Linked DNA regions of Homo sapiens: all the other regions are linked to region 1. The links are contacts of gene promoters, found by promoter capture Hi-C in blood cells and fetal thymus (Javierre and others, 2016). All regions are on one chromosome and are shown on one strand. Each heading gives the region's core, a stretch centred on a gene start or on the middle of the fragment in contact. The rest is flanking DNA. Distances are from core to core; before and after follow the strand shown.

Region 1 (3,801 bases), core at 969-3,468:
TTCCATACCTCCCCACTGCCTTCATTAAAAAAAAAAAAAAAAATCTAGACTTTCTAATATGGCTGACAAGGACCTTTAAGATCTGACCTCTACCCACCATCACCATTCTACTCTAACTCTACACTCTATGCTCTAGCTATCCTTAACTACTTGAGGCTTCCCGATCTGGTCACTCCCTGTCTCTGAACTTCTACACATGCTGTTGATGCTTCTTCCCCGCACCCGCCAACCCCCTAGCCAATTCAACTCACTTTTATTTATCAGCTTAGAATTCACTTTGTCCAGGAAGCCTTTGCTGACCACCACTTTGTCCACCACCGCCTACAATAAACTGTACTATAGCAATTCCAACCCCACCCATCACAGACCCATGATAATATAATGGTTCAGTTATCCGTATTACCCCTCATCACCACCAGACAATAAGCTCTGTGAGGACTAGGAACTAGGTGACAACTAGGACTAGGAACTAGGTGACAACTAGGACTAGCTCTGTGAGGACTAGGAACTAGGTGACAACTAGGAACAGATGACAACTAGGACTGTTGTTCACTAAATTTCAGTACTAAAACACCGGCGGAAATCCTAACTGCCATTTACTAGCAGTGTATCCTTCGACAAATTATCACTTCTGTGTTCCTTTCCTCGTCTATAAAATGTGGCCAAAGATACCTACCTCATAGGGTTATTTTGAGTATTAAATGAAGTAATGTAAGTGGCAAACAAAGTGCTATTTAAACGTTAATACAAGGAATCCAATGTTACCGCAATGCTGAGTAAACAATGTATGGAAGGGTCTGGTAAGCCCCACTCAGTGGAATTCCCAGCTTCAAATACCCCTCTAAATGAATATTAAAGATTTTTTAATTTCCTCTGTGCTTTTAATACAATAAACAATGAATGGTATATACAGAAATCAAATATATTTTAAATGCCTCTGAGGAATCAGTCATGTAACTTAAACCCAGGAGAAATTATCACAGCATGGTAAACCCAGAAGTAATAGTAAAGATAATGAATTACCCCACATTGGAGCACTTCCCTTCCTCTCATTCCACCGAAAATACCCCACAAAAAAACAAAAATCACGAATGTTCACTCTAAATACACTTGCCTACATTTTTAAAAAAGCAATTCTAATGTCCACAGGAGTTGCCAGTTACCACCTCTTGGTGACAACCTTTAATAATCCTAGAATTGGTGCTGTCCCAGTCAGAAGTGTCCAATTTTAAGGCACAGAAAGGCGAACTGGCAAACTCCCAGCTCTCCTGACACCGAATCTGGTGCAACTGCGGAATCCGTATGACAGATGACAATGCAAACCGCCAATCCCTCTGCAGCGCTCTGAGACACGTTCACTTATTTTCTAAATAAATACCAAATCTGCCATTCCCTCCTCACTCAACACACCTTCCTGGATTTTGTTTGTTTGTTTTTTGAGACAGGGTCTTGCTCTGTCGCCCAGGCTGGAATGCAGTGGAGCGATCTCGGCTCACTGCAGCCTCGACCTCCTGGGCTCAAGCTATCCTTCCACCCCAGCCTCCCAAATAGCTGGGGCCACAGGCTCACACCACCACACCCGGCTAATTTTTGTACTTTTGGTAGAGAAGAGGTTTCACCATGTTGCCCAGGCTAGTCTGGAACTCCTGGGCTCAAGGGATCCTCCCGCCTTGGCCTCTCAAAGTGCTAGGATTACAGGCGTGCGCCACCGCGCCCGGCCCCCGGTTTTCTTTAAACTCGAAGTTGCGCGGGAGGAGCGCCGCACTGGAGGTCGATGTGGAGCCTTCGGGAGTTCCTCGCGCGCCCCAGCCCGGAACCCAGGGACGTCAGGGTTGCTCCAGGGCCCCCGGCGCCCCTCGGGTCCCAGGCGCCCATCGCGGCTCTGCACACGGACGAGGACTCCTCGCCCTTCCCTCCGCGGCTGCCAGTGCGGATCTCCCTTCTTCCAGAGAAGACCCCGGGCCGATAGTCCCCGAAAGGGCCCCGCGGCCGCGCTCCTCACCTCCGCCGCCTCCTCTTCCCCGGGATCCAGACTATCTAGGTCCCAGCCCAGGGACGCGGTCACCTCCTCCAACGTCCGGCAGCCGCTCTCCACGAACTCGTTCAGCTCCTCCTGCAGCCGCCGCCGCTCCTCCACAGGTGGAGGCTCGCCCTCCATAGCTGCAGCCCACCCGCCAAGAGGAAGCGGCCGAACTGCAGACCGCACGCGCAGGCCTCTGGGAGCTGTGGGCGGGGCCACAGTCGCCACGTGACTTGAACAGCCTATAGGGAAGAGTCCCGGGAAGGGCGGGACTGTTATTTTGAGAGGCGTTTTCCAATCTTTTCTCAGCTCTTGCGTGCATTTGCTCTGGCCTTTCCAGAAAGATATTCGCCCTCCTCGACTTCCTCAGAAAAAACGGCTTATAGCTACAGAAAAGTTTTAAAAATAGTACAATGAGCTTTCGTTTAGCCGTCCTTCAGCTCATTGTTAACATTTTGCCAGGTTTGATTTCTCTCCGTCTCTTCTCTCCACATTCACAGCCCCACCCAATGATTTTTGCTGAATTCTTTGAAAGTAAGTTGCAGATTTTTCACCCCCAAATATGTTAGCATGCATGTTCTAAGAATAAGAACATTTTCCTGTGTAACCGCAATACATGATCAAACCTAAGAAAATTAGTAAGTCCATAAAATCATTTATTATACAGTTCATATTCAAATTTCCCCATTGTCCCCAAAATTATTTCTATAGCAGTTTTATTTTTTCAACTCATAAGCTATAATTAGTTATTGTCTCTTTTAATCCAGATCAGCCTCCTTCACCCTCCTTTTTAAATTATTAAATCATTACATGTTGTGATGAGCCTAGGCCAGTTGTCTTGTAGAATCTCTCTCATTCTGGATTTGTCAGATTTTGTTTCCCTCATGATTAGATTCAGTTTGAGCACTTTTGCAATACTACCTAAGAGATGTTGCCAACTCACGGGGACGCATAACTCAGTTATATTAGTAATGCTAAATTTGATCACTTGGTAAAGGTGGTGGCTACATCTCTTCATTCTAATAGTACATTTTCCTCTTAGGAATTGGTAAGCAATCTGTGGATTATACCTTGAGTCCATAAGAATAACCTGTTCCCCAACTCCTTGATACAGTCCTTCACTGAATCTGTTGTTACATTAGGAGTTATAAGTGATTCCGCAATAGTATCATGCCTTTTATGTTTATTAACTGGCATTCTTTCCACACCTCCATTTTAGTGTTTGCTTCACTATGGGAATCAAGGTGTTTTTAAAGTTATTGATTTAAGGTTTTTTTTTAATTCAATATAATATACTCCTTTAACATCATAATTCTTGTTGATGCTCAAATTGTCCCAAATGTGGCCAGTGGAAGCCACATTAAGCCATCTGTGTCTTTCATGTATCCCTATTAGTCCTTGAATGCTTTCTTGCTTTGATAACACAAGCTTAACTTTGTACATTTCCTACCCAACACCTGGAATTAGCCCTTGTAGTTTCCCCAAATGGTTTCAACTCCTAGAATCTAACCCATTTTATATTACTTTTTAAAATTTTTTCAAGCCCAAGTGTCAAACCTTGGTTTCCTTTTGCACTTTGTTTACCCATGTGAAGGAACTGTGGGGGAATTTTTTGGTGAACAATTATTTCTAAAGGCAAATAGCACGGTTCTCACTTAAAAAAATAGTCATAAGACTATAAATAGGCAGCACCATAAAATACAGAAGTGGCTAGAAGCTGGTAAGAGAGGAGTATGAAGTTAATGTATTCATACTCTGCCTACAGTATCTTTTTTTTTTTT
Region 2 (3,801 bases), core at 753-3,252, 980 kb after region 1:
ACGGGCAAATTTGTCTCACTCTTGATTTTAAAGGGAACGTTTCCAATGTTTCACCATTAAATGTATTGTTCACTGTAGATCTATATTTTAGGTGTATTTCTTTAAAGAGCAGACAGCTAACTTTTAAAATGCAATTTGTCATTTTTTTGTTTTGTAAGATCAGGTTAATATAGTCCATTTATATCTATTAGGGCTTCTGATTTATTTTTTTATTTTTATTTTTATTTTTTGAGATGGAGTCTTATTCTGTCAGCTGGAGTGCAGTGGCACTATCTCAGCTTACCGCAACCTTTGCCTCCCGGGTTCAAGCGATTCTCCTGCCTCAACCTCCCGAGTAGCTGGGATTACAGGCACCCGCCACTACGCCCAGCTAATTTTTGTATTTTTTGTAGAGACGGGGTTTCGCCATGTTGGCCAGGCTGATCTTGAACAACTGACCTCAGGTGATCTACCTGCCTCAGCCTCCCAAAGTGCTGGGATTACAGGCATGAGCCACCGTGCCCAGCCAAGCCTCTGATATTTTAATAATTATTTTATCCTATTTTGGGTTTTCTTTCTTTATGCCTTTCCTCCCTTCTTTCCAGCATTCTTTTGGATTTAATTGGAATATTTTAATTTTTTCTTTTGTTTTTATTGTTTTGTTTATAGTTTGGAAATCATATACTTTATTTCTAGTCAGGTAGTACTTACCTTTGAAAATTTAACACGAATATCTTAATAAATCTTAAAAATAAACTTCTCTTTTTCCTATTTTTAAAACCTTGGTATATAAGTATGTATATATTTGTTTTTATTGTGGCAAAAAACACATGACAGTGAATTTCCCATCTTAACCATTTTCAAGAGTACAGTTTGGAAGTCTTCAGTATATTCACATTGTTGGGCCACAGATTTCTAGAACTTTTTCGTCTTGCATAAATAAACATTGTCTTTACTCTCCTCCCTGAAAAAGACCAGGTCAAGGACATGAGAATGCTTTAATGTTCACTCACCAGCCCCTCCTCTGTGTGCTATTGTTATCTGCCGTTTTGCACTAGGCAGCCTCCAACATGGCCCCAGGGACCCCCTCCTAGTGTTCACGTCCCGTGCAATCCCCTCCTCTGGAGTAGCCCAGTGACTTGCTTCTAAGCGGTAGTGAGAGGTGACAGCATGCTGGCAGCCCTCACAGCCCTCACTCGCTCTCAGCGCCTCCTCGGCCTCGGTGCCCACTCTGTCCACGCTTGAGGTGCCCTTCAGCCTGCCGTTGCACTGTGGGAGCCCCTTTCTGGGCTGGCCAAGGCCGGAGCCCGCTCCCTCAGCTTGCGGGGTGGTGTGGAGGGAGAGGCGTAAGCGGGAACCCGGGCTGCGCGCGGCGCTTGCGGGCCAGCGCGAGTTCCGGGTGGGCGTGGGCTCAGCGGGCCCCGCAAGTGCTGCAGGTCCGCCCGCAAGCCCCGGGTAGTGAGGGGCTTAGCACCTGGGCCAGTAGCTGCTGTGCTCAATTTCTCGCCGGGCCTTAGCTTCCTCCCCGCGTGGCAGGGCTAGGGACCTGCAGCCCGCCATGCCTGAGCCTCCCCCCGCTCCGTGGGCTCCTGTGCCGCCCAAGCCTCCCCGACGAGCGCCGCCCCCTGCTACACGGCGCCCCGGTCCCATCGACCACCCAAGGGCTGAGGAGTGCGGGTGCGCGGTGTGGGACTGGCAGGCAGCTCCACCTGCCGCCCAGGTGCAGGATCCAGTGGGTGAAGCCAGCTGGGATCCTGAGTCTGGGGGGGACTTGGAGAACCTTTATGTCTACCTAAGGGATTGTAAATACACCAATCAGCACCCTGTGTCTAGCTCAGGGTTTGTGAATGCACCAATCGACACTCTGTGTTTAGCTACTCTGGTGGGGCCTTGGAGAACCTTTGCGTCCACACTCTGTATCTAGCTAATCTAGTGGGGAGGTGGAGAGCCTTTGTGTCTAGCTCAGGGATTGTAAACGCACCAATCAGTGCCCTGTCAAAATGGACCACTCGGCCTTCTCTGTAAAATGGACCAATCAGCAGGATGTGGGTGGGGCCAGATGAGAATAAAAGCAGGCTGCCCGCGCTAGCAGCAGTAACCTGCTTGAGTAGTATTACGTGCTGTGGAAGTTTTGTTCTTTTGCTTTTCGCAGTAAATTTTGCTGGTGGTCGCTCTTTGGGTCCACGCTTCTTTTATGAGTTATAACCCATACTGTGAAGGTCTGCAGCTTCATTCCTGAAGCCAGCGAGACTAAGAACCCACCGCGAGAAACGAAGAGCTCCAGATGCCCCCTTAAGAGCTGTAACATTCACCGGGAAAGTCAGCCAGCGAGACCACGAACCCCACCAAAAGGAAGAAACTGAACACATCCCAGCATCAGAAAGAATAAGTTCTGGACACACTGCCTTTTAAGAACTGTAACACTCACCGCGAGGTTCCGCGGCTTCATTCTTTAAGTCCGTGAGATGAAGAACCCATCAATTCCAGACACAGTAGAACATAGCGAAAACATTGGAATGTTGCTTCTGAGATGAGGCTGCAATGTCATGAGACTATGACAGCTGTCATGCGCTTTCTCCCACTCCGTGGGAAGCACGTTGCCATGTTATGGGGTAGCGTTGTGGGGAGACCCCCCATGGCAAGGCACTGATCTCTGGCTAATAGCTATTGAAGACTTGAACTCCAGTAACAGCCCTGTGAGTGGGCATGAAAGCGGATCTTTGGAGGTCTGTTCATTGCGATGTACTCACATGAGTTTGGAAGCAGCTGCTCCCCCAGCCAAGCCTAGAATTGACTACTTCATCACCTTTTCCCAGAGACCCCCAACTAAACCACACCCAAATTCCTGCCCCAGAGGAAAAAAACTGTGAGGTGAGGTGATAATGCTTATTGTTTTTAACTGCCAAATTTTAGGGTATTTGTTATGCAGAAATAGAAATCTAACACATTCTTGTTCCAAATTCATCATTATCATCATTACATTCATTGATAAAGTTGCTACTTTGCTTGTCATTCCATTTTATATCTCAAAACTGACTTCTGGGGTCATTTCAAGTACCCTTTAAAGTTCTTTTAGTGAGAGTCTCGGTGGCAAACACTCTAGATTTTTTTTTCTCCAAAGTCTTTTACTTACTATTGAATGACTTAACTATACTGTATGTAGAATTGTAGCTATACTGTATATAGAATTCTAGGTTCTACGTTGATTGTTATTTTCTCTTTTCTATGAGAGTATTGCTGGAGCCAGCTGTCAGTCTATAACTTCTTTTAGGTAATTTCTCTTGCAACTTTTACCATTTTTTTTTTTCCTTTGGTGGTTTGTGGTTTTATCCTGGTTGGTCTAATTGTGAAATTTCTTTTACGAATCTCTGGGAAACTGTGGGAAGCACGTTGCTATGTTGTGGGTAGCCTGGTGGAGAGACCCCCAATGTAATGCACTGATATCTCTGGCTAATAAACATTGAAGAGTTATTGCATTTATTGAAGCTGAAATGCATGTCTTTTGCAGTTCTGGAAAATTTTCAGCATTTTTCTTCAGAAATTGCCTTTTCCCCTATTTTCTTCTATAGCTGTAGCTCCATATTTTTCGTTTTATTTCTCTGTGGTAGATTTTGAGTCATAGCTCTAGACCTTTCATCCAGTCCATCAGTTCTCCCTTCAGCTATTTTAAAAACAATGTTTTAACATAACCATTATTTTTTCATTTCAACAATTAAATGTTGCATTTTAAAGGGTCTTATTTTATTTTCAAACCTCCCTGATTATTTTGATACTATTTTTTTCTCATGTTTTGAGTTTTTTTAATTAAAGAAGCTATACATT
Region 3 (3,801 bases), core at 402-2,901, 960 kb after region 1:
TCTGGATGGAAGTCAAGCCAGTGGTAGAAAATAAAAATTTTAGAGGCTGACCTTAGATCAAAGGAAGAAGACAAAACAGAACAGAACAACATAGCCATGAAAGACTTGTTCAGTTACTGGTCAGGAAATTCTGGGATCCTGAGCAGGTTGGCAGTGTGAGATGTTATGGACTGGCTGCTCCTCTGGCTCTATGGTGAACCAGTTTGAGTCCTCTGGCCTGTTTCTATGACAGACCCACCAGAGTTTATCAATCAGCCCTGCAGTTTTCACAAAATGCTCCAACCCTCTGCCTCAAGGTCCCTCGGGTAGGGGAGGAAGCCCAGGGACTCAGTGCTGTGATTTCTAACGCGTCAGACACATCACATATCTTATTTAGTCTCCACTCTTACCCAATAATGAATTATGGCCACTCTCATTTGATAGATGCAGTAATTGAGAAATAGAGAAATGTAATGGCCCTCCAGACTGTCCATGGCAGCTGTGGGGAGGGAAGGAGACCTCCAGGCCTGCTCTCTGGCTTTTTCCTAAGGTGCTCTTCCTCCTGCCAGCTGCCACTCTGACCAGCCTATCTGTTAAGTCCCTTTTGCCCCAAATCTAATTTTTTGGCACAGGTCTTATAAAGCAGAGTCAAAGCACAGGTGTGGCATTGTCCTTGGTGTCCTGGATCTGAATTTATGCTGCAGCTCAGGTCAAGTGTCCACCTGGTGACAGCCCCCGCATACCTGTGCTCAGTAACTCTGGCTAAGAGCCCTGGATTCTGACTTACCTTCTAGCAGTGGTTCACAAAAGTTAACATGCCACAGAACCACTTAGAGCAGGACTGATCAGTCAAAAGAAGAATAATACTTCACCACATGTAAGAATTAAATGAAATTTAAATTTCAGTGTCCATAAATTAAACAAAGCCAAATCAATTATAAAATACATGCAGCAGATATAGACATACCTCACTTCATGTAATCTGGGCACACAGCCATGTCCACTCATTTTCATATTATCTCTGCAAGGGAAGGGTTGAGCAATTGCCACAGAGACCATATGGTCTGCAAAACCTAAAATGTTTACTATCCTTCCCTTTCCAGAAGAAAGTTTGCCAACACATGGCCCAAAAGGCTTGTTAAAATACAGATCACTAAGCCCCAACCCCAGAGCTTCTGATTCAGTACGTCTGGGTAGGGACCAAGAATCTGCCATTTCTAATAATTTCCTAGATGATGCTGATGTTGCTGGTCTGAGGACCACACTTTGAGAACCACTGCCTTATAATAATGGCTGGTTATGCCCAAAGATGATCCTTTGATTTCTATAATTTTGTTATGCCCTTTAAATCTTTTTCCGGTCTTAGTGGAGGGCTGAAATGAGTTTACTTCTTCTCTAGCAAAGCTTTCTTTATGTTTACAGAAGATATACAGCAGAGGGGTTTGGAGCTGGACAGAAACCCAGTTCCACCCCCCGCTGGCTTTGTGACCTTGGGTAAGTTAGACTCAATTTCCTCATCTGATAAGATGAGGGTGTATGTAGGAAAAAACAGTTTTTTCCTCCCATATTCTCAACACAGAGCACTTCTGGTCACCACCTGGCTTGGCTCTCACTCCTAGAGATTCTGATATCATTGGTCTGGGGTATGGCCTGGATGTTGGGAGCTTCAAAATTATAAAGGGAGATAATAATGCAGCGCTGCCAGTAAAAACATTAAAGAGAGTCACACATATAATTTTATGTTTTCTAGGAGCCACATTTTAAAAGTTGAAATTAATTTTAATATAATATTAATATCTTATCATTGATAAATGATTAAAATAATATATTAATGATAAATTCTACTTAACTCAGTATATTCCAAATATTAACATTTCAACACATAACCAGTGGAACAATGATAGAGATATTTTACATTCTTTTTCTAAGACTAAAGCTTTGAAACTGAGTCTGTACTTTACACTTACAGCACATCTCTATTCAGACTGGCTACATTTCAGGGCTCAGTCGCGACCTGTGGCTTGTGGTCATTGCTTCAGAAAGCACAGGAGCAGTTAATGTGCGACCAAGATGGAGACCCACTGGGGTAACGGCGCGCTTGGTGTTTGCAGACCAGACCAAAGCTCCCGGATCACACAGGGGTTCTATCGGCATTGTTGTTCTTGAGGATTGAGGGAGTTGGCTGCAGCTTCCCTCCTTTGGGCTAGGAATTAGTTGTGGTCATTAAGGACATTCAATGAAGCTCAATTTAGTCTTAAAAGTGGATGTGTAGCTTATGGAACCTGTTTGAAAGCATGGCAATCAACTAAAGCAAATACATCTGAATGACTCGATACTATCAGAGGAGACAGAAGGACCAAGGCAGCTTTAACAGAGAAGAAAGTAAAACAGTGGCCAATGTTGTCTCCTTCTCAGTGAGCCCACAGCCTGAGTAAATGGGGCTGTGGGTATCCCAGGCAAGAGGATGGCTGTTAGATCATCCCTTGATATTCTACGCAACTCTTTGATTCAGAACTTTCTATTCGAGTCCAAATATCGCTGGATATTACATAGGCTGTAATTCTCTTTGAAAACTCTTAAATTTATTCCCAGGGGAAGAGAATTTATTCTCTCTATTCTTTCCTGTAATGATAAAGTAACACTTAAAAGAGTAACCTTGCAAATTTATCATAAAAGCAAGCGAGATTTCCAAAAAAGACAAAAATAAAGATCTGCAGAGATAAGTACTCTTAGCACTAAAGTGTGTACTCTTTCAGAGTTTTTTTGTGTATACACTTACACACATTTTATACAATAGGATTCAACAGTGACTACACTTTTATAGCATGCTTCTTTGTCACATAATATTCTTACAAGTATATTTTCATGTAATTTAGTAATCTACGGCATCATTTTAAAATCACAGCATACTGTACCTTTGTTTGGCTGAATAATGACCTACTTAGTCAATGCCCTATCGTTGGCCATATACGCTATTTCCTCCACATTGTCAATCACAGCATAAGTAATCATACTGAAAGAGCATCAGCTGGTCTTTGAATCCAATGTGATGCTTGCCTTAAAGCTAGCTGAGGACAAGGCAGAGGGAAAGGAGGCAACATTTCAGTCTCACTAAGCCTGACCCATTTTGTGTTTTATTTGGCTTGGAGAAAAGCCAGCGAGATGCAGTTTGCAGAGGAATGCATAGTAATGCCATGGCAATGATACCAAACAGCTCAACTGCCAGTGACACCACAATGTGCCACCCACAGTGGACATTAAGTTTTCTCACCGCTCTGCTAAGAAGGACCTGCAAGCCCCAGAGCAAGCCTTTTTATGTGTAACATGTCAACAGCAGCTTGTGCTTGGATTTGGATTGACTTTAGTTCTCCCTGGTGTTCTTTTTTCCCCTTCTGGTCTTACTATTAACCATTTCTTTGGAATAGAATCATTCCTGCAGTAGGTTTGTGGGTGGGTTAAAACAATTTAATTATCCAAAAAGCCTCTGACTTTAAGATTTTAGTTTCTCTGACTTACATAGTTTACATAATTATTTGTTCATGCAGCATTTGTATATCACTTTTCTGATCATTTTACACTATATGATATTTTACACTATATGAAGTTTTCTGGCAATTTCCCCAATGCCAGCTTCTCAGCTTGCCTATGCAGTCATCACTCCCATTGCAATAAAGCAGATAAATAGCTGCAGAGCTGTCCAACCTTCAAATAAGGCAAATGTCAGCCTTTTGAGCTGCTAAACTGAATTGAATACCTCAAACTGATTTAGGGAACCATCTCTCTTCTGTTTTATCAATCCTATTAAAACCATACGCAGGCAAA
Region 4 (3,801 bases), core at 525-3,024, 940 kb after region 1:
TTTTTTTTTCTCTCAAATCATGTCCTTAGTGAAACGGCTGTGTACTTGTATATTCAGCTATGACTAGGATAGTCTCCATATATGGAAATTCCAGTTTAACACAAACCTATAGCATCTGAAACTTTCTCTCTCCCTCCCTCTCTCTCTCACGCACACGCACCCACACAGTCAATTTAAAGAAGAGGGCAAAGGGATTGGGAAGGGACTGGCTGAGTTCCACCTGTGTCTTTGGAAGGCTGTGACAGCTGTCTTGTACTGTTAGAACATGTGCGTACACAGAGTCTAGCCAGGGACTTTACTACTTGTGGTGATGGTTACTGAAAAGGGAGAGAGGTGAATGTCTCAAGCTAGAGGGAATGGCCAGGGGCAGGAATCATTTGCTATTCTTGTGCGTAACACCGTCACCCCCATGTACGTTCAGAGGTTTGCTCCTGAGCCTAGTATGACCACGCACGTCTTTTCCCTCGAGCATTATGGGCCTAGGCAAGGACGCTGCTGCAATTTTGCCTGCTCATAACCCAGAAAACCTCAGATGCTGGTTTTAAAGTTTGACAGGCATTTTTGACCTGCTATTCTAGGTGGTTTACTGATGTATAAACAGTGATTAATAGCAACTACTGTTTTTTAAACTATGGAATTTTTTTCTCTTTTAATCTCTAATATAGTGGCATTTTTATGAATGATAGTGTCAACTCACCCACCTTACTCCAGCCCCTTAGCAGGAGCAAGAGGGCCAGCAGGGACACTGGAAGGACAGGGGCGTCGGATGGTGAAGGGGCTATGCAGCCCACCATGCGATCAGTGCATCCCAGGAGAGAAGACGGGGCCGCAGAAATGGCTCTGGAAGTAGCATGGGCAACATGCTCATTTACGGAGAGCATCGTAGAAGACAACTTAAGAACACAGCACCTGATACACATTAAGTGTTCAGGAGTTATTCCTTGCATTCATTAATGAATGCAGTAATGAACGCCAGCATATGCTGAGGTCAAGTGTAATCATGCTTTGAGGGATGAAGGTGAAATGAATGTTTGGATAAGCGAGAGTATGATGTCCCTATTCGTGAGGTTGCATCAGCTTCTCGGCCCTCATGGTCCAAGGGTGGGGGCCTGCCCAGGAGAAGCAATGGCACATTTTCCCAGTGTTCTAATTTTAGCCAGGCTGTCACCCTCCTGAATTTCTTGGAACTGCTTATGCTGCACCAGCATCCGGCACTGTATCTGGAGGAAATGACTTTTTAACTACAGCATTGTAGTAAGATTCTTTGAACAAACCACAATGAACAATGGTGGCCAGCTTTCTTTATTCTTGGTAACTGTGAGGAAGCACTCCTAAAAAGTTGAAAAGCAGGTGAGTCTGGTGGGAGGCGACCAATTAGAGAAAAAGGATGGACCCTCAAGACTGCTTAAGGACTGCCAAGAGGCTCCTTAGAAACAGATACATTCGGGGACTTCATTACATCTGTGGAGTCTGGGGATGTCTGGTCCTGGGACTAAAATTAGCAGCTGCACTCTTTGGGGGCGCTTCTTTGTAGAGCCTCTCTCTGTCATCAGCTGCTTCTCCTCCCACAGTAGGTTCAGTCAGAGGAGCTTGGAGGTCCCACGAGATGCAGCTGGCTGTGATTTTTGCTACAGGCCACAGTCAGGAGCACATGATAGTAGCATTGGCACAGGCCACGGTGGACCGTTTTTCAGTGTACAGTTCCAGCAAAACCTGGTATTCTCCCTGCAAGGGGCACAGGTCAAGTATTAGACGTGTGACCCACAGTACAATTAACCATTTAACAAATATTTACAGAGAAACTTTTATGTGCTGGGTGCTGTTCTGGACATTGTGGATAACGTAGAACAAGACAAGCCAACCCCTGCCCTGTGGAGCTGACAGCATCTCTGGGAGAGACAGACCACCCTTATGATATGTGACTATGTATGGTGTGTCAGGTGCTCATGTCATGGAGAAAACTCATGCAGGAAGGGAGTGGATGGAAGCACTGGATGGGTCAAGGCAAGTGCTGGTCTGCAATTTTGAGCAGGGTGGTGAAAGGAGGCCCTGCTGAGACGACGACATTTAGGCAAAGACCTGAAGCAGATGCAAGAAGGTGCAGTGCTGCTATGGGCTGGGGCCCCCACCTTAGAGGGGCAGAAGGAGGCCAGTGGGGCTGCAGGGAGTGGGGGGATGGGGGGGGTGAGGTAAGGGCAACACAGGAGGCCAGACTCTTAGGGCCTCAAAGGCCATGGTGGGGACATCAGCTTCCACTCTGAAAGGGACTCTGGTCAGGAGAGGGTGGCCTGCCCTGGCGCCTGTGTCGGTAAGATCCCTCTGGCTGCCTCACTGAAAAGCCCAGATGGGAGGCGATTGCAGGAATCCAGGTGAGAGATGAAGATGACTTGGAGTAGAGGTGGAGGTGGGGGAAGGCTTTGGGTGCCAGAGAGATTTTGAAAGAACAGCCAATAGGATCCGCTGAGGAAACGCAAGTGGGTGGGAGAGAAAGAAATGGGTTAAAGGTGACTCCAAGGCTCCTGGCCTGAGCAACTGGAAGGAGAAAGGTTTGTATGCTCAGACAGAGAAGACCCCGGGGAGCACAGTTCACCAGCACAAAACCAAAATGCACCATCACAGAAAGAATGGCTGCCTTTGGGGATCCTTGCTGGCAGCAACACTGTAAGGAGGTCTCCCTTCCTTTGCAGTCAGCTTGGCAGAAGCCACCTGGCAGCCAGGTCCTATGAGGACTGTAGAAGAGCCATTCTGGTTTTGTTTGCTGCCAGCACCCCAGTCCTGCACCCCAGCAGCCACGGAGCGGTGATGTGTTTGTAGACACGAATCTGGAGAGGAAAATGCTCTGGGGTGGTTGGAGGGTCGCAAGCGGAGCAGAGGGACTGTGGCAGAGGAGGCCAGGAGACTGCTGGCACATCTTTGAACTGCCTGTCACCCAAAGGAGGAAAGAGTTTAATCTGTATAAAGCAAGAGGGAAGGAGTAGGTGAGACCACCGGAGAGAAGCTGCATGAAAGGTGGCTTTTGTTAGAAGGGAGCAACTTTCTAGCAATGAGCAGAGCTTCCAAAGAGAGTGGAGTCCCCAACACTGAAATTGTATTCAAGAGAACCAGGCTGTGCTCTGGATGGTGCCTTGGGTGTGATTCCATGATTCTAGACGCTCCCATGAGTCACACTCCTCAAATATTGAGCAGCTGTAATTTTAGAAATAGTGTTAGGAATATAACCAAAGCAGTCCAAATGTTAGAGAATTAATTATGAGTAAAGACCGGCTCAAATTTATATCTCGTTGTGTTTCATCGTTCTCTTCCTCCTCATGTACTTTTCTTTAAAATCTCTATGTGCATTTAGACACACACCTACAAATGTATTGAACAACACAAGAATTTTTCATTACTACATTATGAACCTAAGAGGAGCTGTTGTATTTGAAGGAAGGGGTTCTAGATTATGAATTACAGATATCACAGACTCTGGTATAAGAGATAAGAATATTTAGGCAAGCGTGCCAGGCTGGAGGCAGATGGAGGTGTGTGCTGGGAGGCCAGGAGGCCAGGGTAGGGAAGGACTGAGTGCAGCGTTTCTGCTGTTGAGGAGGGCACAGAGTTTGTAAGTTAGGAATTTGTAGGTGCACCTTTGGCAATACATGGGTCAGGCTGTGCCTACAAGTTGTTGTCCACATGCTTCGGGAGCCCAAAGGATCCCCTAAATTTTCATTCAGAAAGCAGGAGGCATAGACAGAGGACAGCAGGTAGGGCTTCAATCCGGGCCAAGGGGTTGGATGAGTTCAGAGGGAAATAATACCAAGA
Region 5 (3,801 bases), core at 353-2,852, 910 kb after region 1:
CTCAGCAGGACACTTTCCCTTCCCTGTAGTTCAAATATGCGCCGCAACCTCAGCTTGATCTCAAGCTTTCTATTGCCATGTAAACAATCAGGGAGCCCTGGAATGGTGGGCTCCAGGGGTGGGTGGGTCAGGGCCACCCCCAGGGGTGCAGAGTCTGAAGGGGCTAAACTCCGGGCGGAGGCTGGGGGGCCTCAAAAGCATTTTCATGCAGGTGAGAAAAGGAAAATTTCCAGGGCATCTTGGCTGAAGCACAGAAGTGACTCCCGGAAGACCTGGCATGTGTGAGATGTAGGAGGGATGCTCTGTGCCTGCTTGTGTGTGTGCATGAGTGCGTGTGTGTGTATGTGTGTATGCGTGTACATGTGGTGGGTATGATGAGCCTCGGGGCTCCCTTTAGCATCTGCTGGTGAGTTTACTGTGCCTGCCGACCGTTTCCCAGGTCAGGCCTCCGCCCATGATAACTACTGTTTACCAAACACTTACTGTAGGTCAGTGACTCACATATGTGATCTCATTTCACTCTCCCAACAACCCTGACGTAAGGACTATTATCCCTATTTAACACATGAGGAAAGGGAGGTTTGAGAGCTCTGGTTACTTTTTCACATTCTGAAGCTAGGTGCCTCCACAGCACATGAAATGTTCTGCCGTCGTTCGTCTCCCTGGGACCATATGGAAACGGGGGCTGCTTCCCCTGGAGATCACAAAGGGCTTCTGCAGTAGAGAAAGGAGACTAAGAGCACCTTTCTAGACTTTTCCTTAGCATTCTTCAAGATGTACTATCAGAAGTTCAATAAAAACAACCTAATGCTGAGATTCATGGATAGAAAATTGACTCAACTTCCTGCCTTCCGACGAGCTTATTTTCTTCTTAGCCATTGTAAATTGGTGGAGCCGTGTTCCTCCTTGTCTTAGAAACTTTTAATGGTGCTGTTGCCCTCAGGTTAAGGTCTGGACTCCTTGTGGCTCTCCAAATCCCTCAGAGTCCTTCATTGTCTGAGCAGGCACACTCATCTTCTGTAGTTTAAAAGGTGGCAGTGGCTGGGCGCAGTGGCTCACGCCTGTAATCCCAGCACTTTGGGAGGCCGAGGCAGGCAGATCACCTGAAGTTGGGAGTTTGAGACCAGCCTGACCAACATGGAGAAACCCCGTCTCTACTAAAAATACAAAATTAGCCAGGCGTGGTGGCACATGCCTGTAACCCCAGCTACCCGGGAGGCTGAGGCAGGAGAATCGCTTGAACCTGGGAGGCAGAAGTTGGGGTGAGCTGATATCGCTCCATTGCACTCCAGTCTGGGCAACAAGAGCAAAACTCACTCTCAAAAAAAAAAAAAAGAGTGACAGTAATGACATGATCATTAAACATCTTTCAGGGAAGACTCTATGAGACCGATGTTTGCATGCTAAAGACAGGTGTTGCTGCCGGAAAGTGATTCGGTTTGAGGACTCAGGACTTGGGAACATCAGTCTCATCTCAACAGAACCCTTTTTTCAGTTCCCTGCTGTTTCCTGCACAAACTGGGGGAATGTGCTTGGCCTCCCTGGAGCTCGGATTGTCTAGCAGCTTGGATTGCTTAGTCCCCCTTTCCACACCTTCCTGCCACCCTGAGGGGGAGGCCTGATGGTTCATGGGCTTCCGCAGAAGGAATTTGCCCACTCTGCTTCCTAAAATGTGCAGCTGCATTTTGCTGCTGGGAAAATATTGATTGAAGGTCTGGAGGAGTCTGACAACTTGTAAGGCACATACAGTTTTTATCTGCAGGATGAAGTTAGTTTTTGTTTGGGCCTGGTGTTTTCGAAAGAAGGAAATCACTTTCATAAGCATCAGATTAGATCCAGGAAGCGTCCGCAGGACAATGAGAAGCTGATAGAGGCAGTGTCTCAGGATTTTGCCATTGGTTACTACCGCCACCTCCTGGCTGAAATTGTGAACTACACAGCATGGGCTTCCTGGGCAAACTGGTTTAAGAAAAGGTAGCCCCGTTTTCCCCATTTTCTGCAAGTTCTGTGTGGCGCAAAAAGGAAATGAGAAGACTTATTGTTTAGATAGAGTATTTATTGGCATATTTTATATTAACTGTGATGATAAAGCAGACACAAGAATAAGAAATAAAATCAGAGTGAATTTTTCTCATCTGAGGCAACAGGGAAAATAATTCATTGGAACAACCCTGTGACTCAGTGTTAGCTTTGCCCAAAATAAGTGTCAAGGCCCTTATCTGAGTTTCCAAGACCCCCTGCCCATTCTCTTAAGCTGACCTCTTAGCATATTGAGGGAAATCTACCAAACATTTTGGAAAATTAGTACAAAATTAAGGAATTAAAATGAAAATTGCAATATAAAAAATTATTGGGTCTGAGGCATGTCTTCAGGTTGTACAAGGAAAAGATGTAAGATTTGGTATCTCTCCTCTTCATTATTTTATATTGGTTTTATACATAAGCCCTCACCCTGTAGAAATATAAGTTCTAAGTTAGGAAAAGGATTATTTGTAACATACATGCAATACACATACATTGACAGAAATAGAAACAGGCTTTTTCTGTTATTTAAATAGTATTTTTGGAGTAGATTGGTTTTTCGTTTGTTTGTTTTTGAGACAGAGTCTTGCCCTGTCGCCAGGCTGGAGTGCAGTGGCGCGATCTCTGCTCCTTGCAATATTTTCCTCCCGGGTTCAAGTGATTCTCCTGCCTCTGCCTCCCGAATAGCTGGGACTACAAGCGTGTGCCACCATACCCAGCTAATTTTTGTATTTTTACTAGAGACAGGGTTTCACCATGTTGGTCAGGATGGTCTCTATCTCCTGACCTCATGATCCGCCTGCCTCGGCCTCCCAAAGTGCTGGGATTACAGGAGTGAGCCACTGTGCCTGGCGGATTGTATTTTTAAAAATTTATTTAGAGATGGGGTCTTGCTCTGTCAAGCAGGTTGGATGGAGTGCAGTGGCGCGATCATAACTCACTGCAGCCTTGACTTCCTAAGTCAAGCAACCCTCCTCCCTCAGCCTTTCCAGAGGACAGCAGCTGGGGCCTTCAGACAATTACGTTTCCTTAGTCGGACATCTGAGAGGCATAATTTCATGGCTACCACAGAAACTGAGAGCAAATATTACATTTCTCATCCCCCCTTGAAGCTTGGGTCTTGCTGAATATTGTTTTCATAAAGCAATCTGCCATATTGAAAAAGCCATGTAATGAGAAACTGTGTGCAACCTCCAGCCAACAGCTAGGAAAGAACTGAGGCCCTCAGTCTTCTCAGGTGGCCTACTGGCCAATATGTACAAGTTGTATATACAACTTCCAGAAGGGTCCTTAAAAGAAGAGGGCTATCACTTTCTTGCCTTCTTTTCTTTCTTGCTGGCTGGAATGTGATGATATCACTAGATCTGAAACAGCCATTTTGGACTAAAAGGCAGAAGCCACAGGTGAGGATGATGGAGTTACAAAATAAAAGAAGTCCAAGTCCTAGTGAACTGGGCCACCATGAACTTCCCAGGTTTACTGGAGAGAGAAATAAACCTCTAACTTGTGTATGTCTCTGCTTGATTTTCAGTTACTTATAACAGAACTTTATCCAAACTGAAAAAAATTTTACATTTTATATGTAAAGTCCGAAGTTTAACAGAGTTAGTATTTCCCAGACGATAAATCATGGGAAAAATAAAAGTTTAATTACCTAGGACTATTACTGGGAGATGATATTTGCTGCATATAGTGAAGGTGCTAGCAAATCTCCCCTTTTTGTTGCTAAGAGGGTGTTCCACTTAGTTAGCCAGGGCAACAGAAGGAAACCATTGATGT
Region 6 (3,801 bases), core at 873-3,372, 880 kb after region 1:
GGCTGGGCTGGTCTCAAACTCCTGACCTCAGGTGATCTACCCGCCTCAGCCTCCCAAAGTGCTTGGGATTACAGGCATAAGCCACCATGCCCGACCATGTTCTGCTTTTATCAGTATGCTTTCAACCCTGACTCAAATATCCTTTTGCCTTCACCTGGAAAGGTCAATAATACACATGGACTGCCATGCCTCGGGTTTACGGAAGCCCCCACCTATCTCCCCAGGACCCCTTTCAGGCTATTCTGGGCACTGGCTGTTGAGGAATGCCCTGGATTCAGTTTTCCAATTTATTTGTCTATAAAGCCCTAATGTGAACAATTTTTTGCTTGCTGAGTATTTTCAATGACAACCAAATAATCGAGTTTCCCGTAGATCAGTGACTCTTAACCGGGGCATCTTGCCCCTCAGGGGACAATTGGCAATGTCCAAAGAAGACATTTTTGATTGTCACAAGTGGAGGGGAGGAGATGCTACCAGTGCCTCGTGGGTGGAGGCCAGCGATGCTGCTACACATCTTGCAGTGCATAGGATGGTCCCCACATCAAAGAATGATCCCACCAAAAATGTCAGCAGTGTCAAGGCATAGAAACGCTGATCAAGACAATGACCCTTTCCAGTCTTATTTAATAAATAAAAAGAACTCAACCAGTTTTCTTTGGTGATGGAGGATGGTTCTTACAGCAGTGTCCTTCCTTTAAATTGTATGAGCTGTAGTGTAGAAATAGAAATGAAACAGTTATCTTTTTGTCTAGTTTTTGGACAAAAAATTGGTCCAGAACACACCATGAAGGATGATTCTGGGAAATCAGATATTGCAGATGAAAGAGAACTTGGCTGGGGACAAGCTCTGGGTTCTAGCTCTGGTTCTAATGCCAACTTGCTGGGTGTCTGGGACTGTCACTCTCATCTAGGGGTGGAACTAAAGCACCTTCAGACCTCTGCTGCCTCTAACAGTTTCTTCTAGAACAAGTCCATGCATGAGTCAGTTGAGAGAGTTGCTAAAGCTTAACAGAATATAAAGGAATAAGGAAGAAGAAACCACTCCACCTCTGCCCTTCCACTTTCGTCGGCAGGGTACGTCCACCCATAGCATGGGCTCCCTGTGTGACCCACTTCCCTGCTTCCGCATGGGCTTGAGGGAGGAGGAGGCCTGGCATGCCGGAAGGCTGGCCAGGGGTGAGGTCCGTGCTTGGGGACTGGTGATGTGAGAATGGGCTAAGCAGTGAAGAACTCTGTGGCATCTGTTTTTAAAATGGAGTCCAGGGGTGAGCAGTGGCTTATGAATGTTCTCAAGAAAGAAATGATGACTAGCCTTGGACATTTTGATGTTGCTCTTTGAAAAGATCCATATTCTCTTTTGGGATGAATTATAGTTCACTTGTGATATTTCTTTTAAATATATTTTTTAATCTTTAAAATTATTTTTATTTTTATTATTTTTTAGAGATGATTCCTTGCTCTGTTGCCCAGATGGGAGTGCAGTGGGCACCATTATAGCTCACTGCAGTCTCGAACTCCTGGGCTCAAGTGTTCCTCCCACCACAATTTCCCAAATAGCTCGGACTACGAGTGTGACTTACAATATTTCTTATTACACAGGAAGCTGAATTTTTTTCTTTAACTTGCAAGAAGTCTGTGGCATTTTTTAAATTTATTTTTGTCTTCACAAACAAGTAGAGTAAGTGATTTAAAAAGGTATACACGTGAAATCTTTTTCATAGGTTATCCATATTACATGGTAAGCAAGTTAAACATATAAAAGGCTGTACAGAGAAAAAAGGAGTCCTCCTCCCAGCTCGGGGGTAGTTGATCTTTGTTTTCTTATCACTATGGTCTTGGAGGGCAGAAGTTGGAGAGTTGAAGCCATAGTGAAGCATCACCAAACTAAGAAGGCTCAGGTCTTGGGACAGCTCCATGCACAGGCTGAATGGGACGGCTGCCAGGAAGATAATATTCTGTTCTGGATGTACATTTCCAGGGCCAGTAAGTGACTGCACACACCTGAGGCAGTTGACCTTCTGCTCTGTCGATGAAAGAAGAGGGGACAAAAATCAAGGGACAGGAACAAGGCAAGAAATTGAGGCTTTTGGAGTTATAGGCTGGAATTGTGCTGAATTTTCTTCTGAAATAGTTCACTAAGGTGTATTAGCCAACCACTTATGTCTTTCCTTCTATGTCATTTTCTTTTTTTTTTTTTTTTTTTTTTTTTTGTTATGGAGTTTTGCTCTTGTCCAGACTGGAGTGCAGTGGCGCAATCTTGGCTCACTGTGACCTCCGCCTCCTGAGTTCAAGTGATTCTCCTGCCTCAGCTCCTGAGTAGCTGGGATTACAGGCGTGCACCACCACGCCCGGCTAACTTTTGTATTTTTTGGGAGAGACGGGGTTTCACCGCGTTGGCCAGGCTGGTCTCGAACTCCTGACGTTAGGTGATCTGCCCACCTTAGCCTCCCAAAGTGCTGGGATTATAAGCATGAGCCACCATACCCAACCTATGTCATCATTTTCAGTGGAAGTAGTTGTCTAATACGAGGAAGTAACACGTGTTCAAAAGAATAGAGTAGGGTTGCTTGATCTTCTGTGTTTTCTTAGAGCTCTATTTTCTTTGTGTTCAGAGCAAGTTCTGATTTGGACAAAAAGCATGGCCTCTTAGGGCTGTCAGTGCTGCCACTTACTTGGTTGTGGGCTTAATGTGCTGGCTTTGAGTCTGTCTCACTGACTCCCATGCTTCGTGGGTCCCTGGAATTCTGTGCTTATGGGGATCCCCAACATGACCTGCACATAGGACAGCAGGAAAGGAGGACATATATACTGCGTACATCTCCTCTGCTCACATGCATCTCCACTGTCCCCATAGGATTTCACTCGTAAAACACAAGTTCACAGATAAGACTAAGGATGTTAAGACGGTGATGGTAGAGCACTAAGCCAAGTGTGGGTCCTTCTAAGCACAAGGCCTTGTGCAGCATGACAGGTTGGTCACCATGAAGTGGTCTCTGCCGATGTGGTTATGAAACCAGGAGGGCTGAGGGATCTTGAAACATGGGATGAGCTGCCTAAGGCCAAAACCAATGTTCTGAGGATGGTAGAGCCCAGAGCTTGAAGGAATTTATGTTCCTGACAACAACACTGAACCACTGGTTTTAATCTCCTTGGAACTTGCTTGGACTTCTTATCTGAGATTAGAATATCCTTGTTTTTAAAGGTGGTTTGAGCTGAGTGTCACTTGCAGGTGAAAGCTTTGTGACGTACACCAGAGGACATCTTGTCCCTAATGAGTGAATGCCATAATACTTTACCTTTATTTTCCTTACTAGGCTCCATCTCCGTAGCCTGCTTTTGACAAAAGTGGATACATAAATCTAGGGGCCACCTAGCTAGTTCTAATAAGACTTTGGAAGTCAAAAGCTAAAGAAGACCAGGGGACCAAGCTGGAAATCAGGCTCTGCAATCAGATTCCAGAGGGAATGCCATTCCACCCAATCACCTAGCCACAACGGTTCCCTTCCTTCAAGATGCTGCATGCCTCTTCAGGCGAATGGATTACCTTGTAAGAGTGACCTGAAAAAGCGTTAGCCCAGCCACACCGAGGCTTAACTGAGCCATTTGATTCTCACTGCCTCTCTCTGTTGCTTCCTCTTGCTTTCAACTACAGGGTCTTTCTGTTTAGGTGGTGAAAAAAATGATCGTTAAAAACAATAAACCTGGGGACCTCTGATACCATGAGCCCAGCCAGAGATCTGTGTCAAGCAAATCCTTGCAGACAGTTCTGCCAGCCTGCAGATGGCTGTTTGCCTCTCGTGG
Region 7 (3,801 bases), core at 804-3,303, 870 kb after region 1:
TGTAAAACCCAGCTGTGCCCCCCGGCTTCTGCCAGCACCAAGGCACTCCTTTGTCCTAGCGTTCCAGGAGGCTGAAGAGCTGAGTAACCCAAAGGGCATGGCGCCCAAGCCGCCTCAGCGCGCTGTCTGCGAATGGGCTCTAGGCGCTGGGTCGGGCTGCTGGGCCCGGCTGCTGGGCCCCAGGGGCTCTAAGGGGACAGGATGTGTTGGGACCTTCACTTATCTTCCTAGCACGTGCGGGGGCTGCAGCCCAACTTCCCCAAGAGCGGTGTCTCCCTGGCACAGCTTTGGAGTTGGAGGGATCGCCCCCTCCCCTGCCTGTCTTTCTAACTTGTTTTTCTGCTGACGCTGGAGCCACGGTACTTTTGCTTTTTGAAACACCCTGTAATTGGAAGAAGAAAAAAAAAAGACGAGTCTGCTCAGTGTTATGAGACAGGCACGTGCTGCCCTCTAATGGCTCCTGCCTTGTGGGTTTCCAGGCTCCCCGGGGAAGGGGCGCCCCAGGCCTGCCTTCCTGGAGGGTCTGCGGAGGGTTTCCTTCCTCCGGGTAAGCGGGCCCCTTTCCCTGCAGCCTGCTCAAGCGTCGGGGAAAGATGTCCGAAGACAGGTAGCTTTGTGTGGCTGGCTGTGAGAGGAGAACGGTCCTACATTCCACTCCAGACCAGGAGCGTTTCTTGGAGCCATGTACCCTACCAGCTTAGGAAGGAGTTGCTCATCCTCCCTCGCAGTCCCTCTGTGTCTACAAAGGAAAGCACAGCGCATGGCAAAGGCCGGTCAGCAGGCTCGTGCACGCAAACAGGCTTCCTTTTCCTGTCCTGCTGGCCAGAGGGGATGCGGGGGATGGGGTAAAATGCTGCTGATACCCCCCTCAGACTTTCCACTGGCAGCCTCCGGAACCTACTCAAAAGCCGAACACAAACCTCTTGAAAAAAAACATCAGAGTTAATGTTTGCAGAAACTGAAGACATTGGTTGGACATAGTCCAGTTCTGTTTAGAGGGGAAACTAGGATTTAATCAAGGAACAAAGTTCATAGGTGTGGGAGGAAAACCTGGGAAACGTTCTGTTTTGGTAGCTGGAAAGCTTGTCTCCAGAAGTGAAGGAAAGAAGCTGAAAGAGGAACTTGTATTTTCCTCCAGCGAGCTCAGATCCTGGCAAAGGGAGAGCGTGATGCTGGTGCGAGCTCTGTGGCTCGGTGGGAAACAGTGCAAAAGTTAGTGTTCCCAAGTTTAGAACGTTTTATGTAGTAAGGGTTCTTGGAAAAGTGCAAACAAAGCAGAGTGGTCCTTCTTGAGCTTTTCCTAAGTTGGGAGTTACTGGTCACAGAGCTTAATGAGGCAGTTCCTGTGGGAGCGGCTGCTCGGGGTGGCAGACCACTGCTAAATTCTGCCCCCGGAAGGGTGATGGAGGCAGAAAGTGGAGAAGGCTGGGTTGAAATCTGACTGAATGAGCCTCATTTTCACAGGAGGGTTAGACAAGAAGTCCCTTTCCTGGCTGGCCACTTCTTGTAGAAATGGAGAAGCATTTTTATTTTTTACCTTATTTAGATCTTCAGTTACAAAAGGCTGTCATTAGGAAATGAGTCTTTCCCCATCCCTTCCCTGCTCAACTGTAGAGGATGAAAGTTTTTTTTTTTCCTTCTCTCTTTTCTGATAATCCTGAGCAAATTCTGAAGAAACACAATTTTTTTTTTTAAAGTGTTCTCTCTTTCAACAGAACTGGCCTGAACTTTTGGCCTAGTCTCTCTCCATAAGCCTGATGGTGCTCATCCAGCCCCAGATCGTGTGAGCAGCTCTCTAAGGCTATAGGAGCCCCGGGCATGTCCTCTTCAGGCCCTGTGGGAACCCTGGCTCCCACATTGTAAGGGATTGTCAGGAAAAAGGGTCAAGCTGGCTGTTAGTGCTGGCTTCAAGGGGACAGAGCTGGGTCTGAAATATGTGTATTTTCTATCTTGAGTTTTGTTTTATGAGCACCCCTGCAACCCACAGCTTACAGATGCCACAAGGTGCCTTTGGGAGATGTTTTTCCAGTCTTGTTCAGCAGGGAGCCCCTTTCCCCTAACCAAGCATTTCACACAAAGCCAGTCCCAAGTCTGGAGACCTCAGTATTTCCCCAAAGCTGGATTCCTGCTGAGCTGCACACATCTGCTCCCTAGTTGGTTCTATTTGGGTAAAATCAAAAGTAAACAGAGGGCCCTGGGCTTATATGTGATGTTTAAAACAAAAGGATGTAACCAGAGGGCCTCTACTTTGAATCCCTGACATTCCATGATTCGCTGCTAATGTTCTTCTAGCAGTGGCTGGAGGAAGCCGGCAAGATCTGAATGCCGTGGGGTCCTGGGGAAAATGGTACCCAACAGTAGGACTTCAGCTCAGCAGAAAGTAGACGAGGCTCTGAATATACCCTACCCCGTGCAATAGGCAGCCCACCAAATTCAGGTAACCCTTGCATTGTGGCTTTGCCCCCCACCTCTTTTTTTTTTTTTTTTTTTTTTTTTTTTTTTGAGATCGGGTGTTGCTCTGTCACCCAGGCTGGAGTGCAGTGGCGTGATCACAGCTCAATATTGCCTGGACTGCCTGAGCTGAAGTGATTCTCCCACCTCAGCCTCCCGTGTAGCTGGGACCATAGGTGCATTGCCACACCCAGCTAATTTTCAAAAAATTATTTGTAGTGAAGTCTCATTTTGTTGCCCAAACTGGTCTCCAACTCCCGGGCTCAAGCAATCCTCCCACCCTGGCCTCTCAAAGTACTGAGATTACAAGCGTGAGCCACCACACCCGGCCAGCTTTGCCACTTTTATAGGCTCACAGGCAAGTTACTTCTCCAAGCCTGTTTCCTCCCTGGTAAAATGAAAATGTGAGCATTAGATTGTTTGGATGCAGGGCTTATTCTATTGGAAGAAGTCAGTATTAAGGCTTGAGCAGATGGGAATGACATGTAGAGCTGGTTTTGGTGAGTTCTGTGCCGCATTTGGACCATGGGCAGGTGCGGGAAGGGGATATAGGATCCAAGTAGAAAAGCTTTGCAAAGAAAGACAATGGTTCAGAGAGGACAGACCTGGGACTCCTTGTGGAGAAACTGGTTCAGATCACAACCTGAGTCTTAAGAGCAGCCTCTGGGCAGGAGTCAGAAAGCTGGAGAAACATAGGAGAAACCCAAGAGGCCAACTCTGCATGGGGAATATAGCAGAGAAGAGAATAGGACAGGACCTGCAGGGAGAAGTTTTGGCAGAGTGGAAAAGGGGAGCTGAGGGGGCCCCAAACTGGGAATCAGTCCAAAGACACCAGTCTGCCAGGCTGAGAGGGGAACTTGGAGCAACAGCTTGTTAAGCACTTGATTAATGAATAAGCTGCTGGCTGGTTCAGGTAAGGGTGCACCTGTGATTTACCTAATCCCTACAAAGCTCACACAGTGAGATCTCCACGCACTCAAGTTGTTTTGTACTCGAAGTGCTTGACTGAGCCTGGACTGTGCTGAGCAGCCTTGTGGGAGGGACTCCTAGGAGAAAGTTTCTTAAAAACAAAAATAGACTCTTGGGGTGGTGGTTCTTGCCCATTAACCAAAGTGGCAATAAAAAGTTGCTTTTAAACTTGGGAGCTCCAGAAGCTATTATGGGACAAAATATGAGCAGAAGTTAGTAGTGTAGTATATCACTCTAGAATTTAGATTCTTTCATCCTTATGACCTTTCTTGTATAGGTATTTTTTTGTTCCTATAAACTAAGACTTTTAATTAAACCACAACACTCATAGAGAAAACTGGCAAAATTCTAAATATTTGGTTGATAAAAGTTCAAAAACTC

What was found. Contacts are between HindIII fragments. The CHiCAGO score rates a contact against its expected background, and 5 or more counts as called.
Region 2: a fragment that was not itself captured here is called in contact with the fragment with the promoter of SNRNP48 in region 1 in 1 of 17 cell types (total B cells); the score reaches 5.3 in total B cells.
Region 3: a contact is called between a fragment that was not itself captured here and the fragment with the promoter of SNRNP48 in region 1, in 1 of 17 cell types (naive B cells). The highest score is 5.5, in naive B cells.
Region 4: a contact is called between a fragment that was not itself captured here and the fragment with the promoter of SNRNP48 in region 1, in 5 of 17 cell types (naive B cells, non-activated CD4 T cells, total B cells and 2 more). The highest score is 7.4, in naive B cells.
Region 5: a contact is called between a fragment that was not itself captured here and the fragment with the promoter of SNRNP48 in region 1, in 7 of 17 cell types (fetal thymus, naive CD8 T cells, total B cells and 4 more). The highest score is 8.3, in fetal thymus.
Region 6: a contact is called between a fragment that was not itself captured here and the fragment with the promoter of SNRNP48 in region 1, in 2 of 17 cell types (fetal thymus and total B cells). The highest score is 9.5, in fetal thymus.
Region 7: a fragment that was not itself captured here is called in contact with the fragment with the promoter of SNRNP48 in region 1 in 8 of 17 cell types (fetal thymus, total B cells, naive B cells and 5 more); the score reaches 9.3 in fetal thymus.

Annotation. Positions count from the first base shown.
Region 1 is chr6:7,588,615-7,592,415 of GRCh38, reverse strand. SNRNP48 (small nuclear ribonucleoprotein U11/U12 subunit 48) reads right to left here and starts at 2,218. Exons shown (of 9, transcript NM_152551.4): 1 at 2,003-2,218. The coding sequence starts at 2,158. RefSeq lists enhancers at 1,994-2,143, 1,722-2,461. The HindIII fragment of the contact is 5,411 bases long and covers 1-3,450 here.
Region 2 is chr6:6,604,324-6,608,124 of GRCh38, reverse strand. The region is part of intron 1 of LY86 (lymphocyte antigen 86); the gene reads right to left. All of the region lies in intron 1 of LY86-AS1 (LY86 antisense RNA 1), which reads left to right. Among named protein-coding and RNA genes, the nearest start is that of LY86-AS1, 17 kb to the left of the region's middle. The HindIII fragment of the contact is 6,589 bases long and covers 1-3,801 here.
Region 3 is chr6:6,628,978-6,632,778 of GRCh38, reverse strand. All of the region lies in intron 3 of LY86 (lymphocyte antigen 86), which reads right to left. Among named protein-coding and RNA genes, the nearest start is that of LY86-AS1, 8.1 kb to the right of the region's middle. The HindIII fragment of the contact is 532 bases long and covers 1,386-1,917 here.
Region 4 is chr6:6,652,468-6,656,268 of GRCh38, reverse strand. LY86 (lymphocyte antigen 86) reads right to left here. Exons shown (of 5, transcript NM_004271.4): 5 at 1,287-1,725. The coding sequence ends at 1,642. Among named protein-coding and RNA genes, the nearest start is that of LY86-AS1, 32 kb to the right of the region's middle. RefSeq lists a silencer at 2,222-2,412. The HindIII fragment of the contact is 4,773 bases long and covers 1-3,801 here.
Region 5 is chr6:6,675,114-6,678,914 of GRCh38, reverse strand. No RefSeq gene overlaps it. Among named protein-coding and RNA genes, the nearest start is that of LY86-AS1, 54 kb to the right of the region's middle. The HindIII fragment of the contact is 3,069 bases long and covers 68-3,136 here.
Region 6 is chr6:6,704,592-6,708,392 of GRCh38, reverse strand. The region is part of intron 4 of LOC101928004 (a long non-coding RNA gene); the gene reads left to right. Among named protein-coding and RNA genes, the nearest start is that of LY86-AS1, 84 kb to the right of the region's middle. The HindIII fragment of the contact is 2,232 bases long and covers 1,007-3,238 here.
Region 7 is chr6:6,721,362-6,725,162 of GRCh38, reverse strand. The region is part of intron 2 of LOC101928004 (a long non-coding RNA gene); the gene reads left to right. It overlaps LOC101928047 (a long non-coding RNA gene), which reads right to left. Exons shown (of 6, transcript XR_001743949.2): 5 at 1-382. Among named protein-coding and RNA genes, the nearest start is that of LY86-AS1, 100 kb to the right of the region's middle. RefSeq lists enhancers at 311-370, 1-380. The HindIII fragment of the contact is 1,937 bases long and covers 1,085-3,021 here.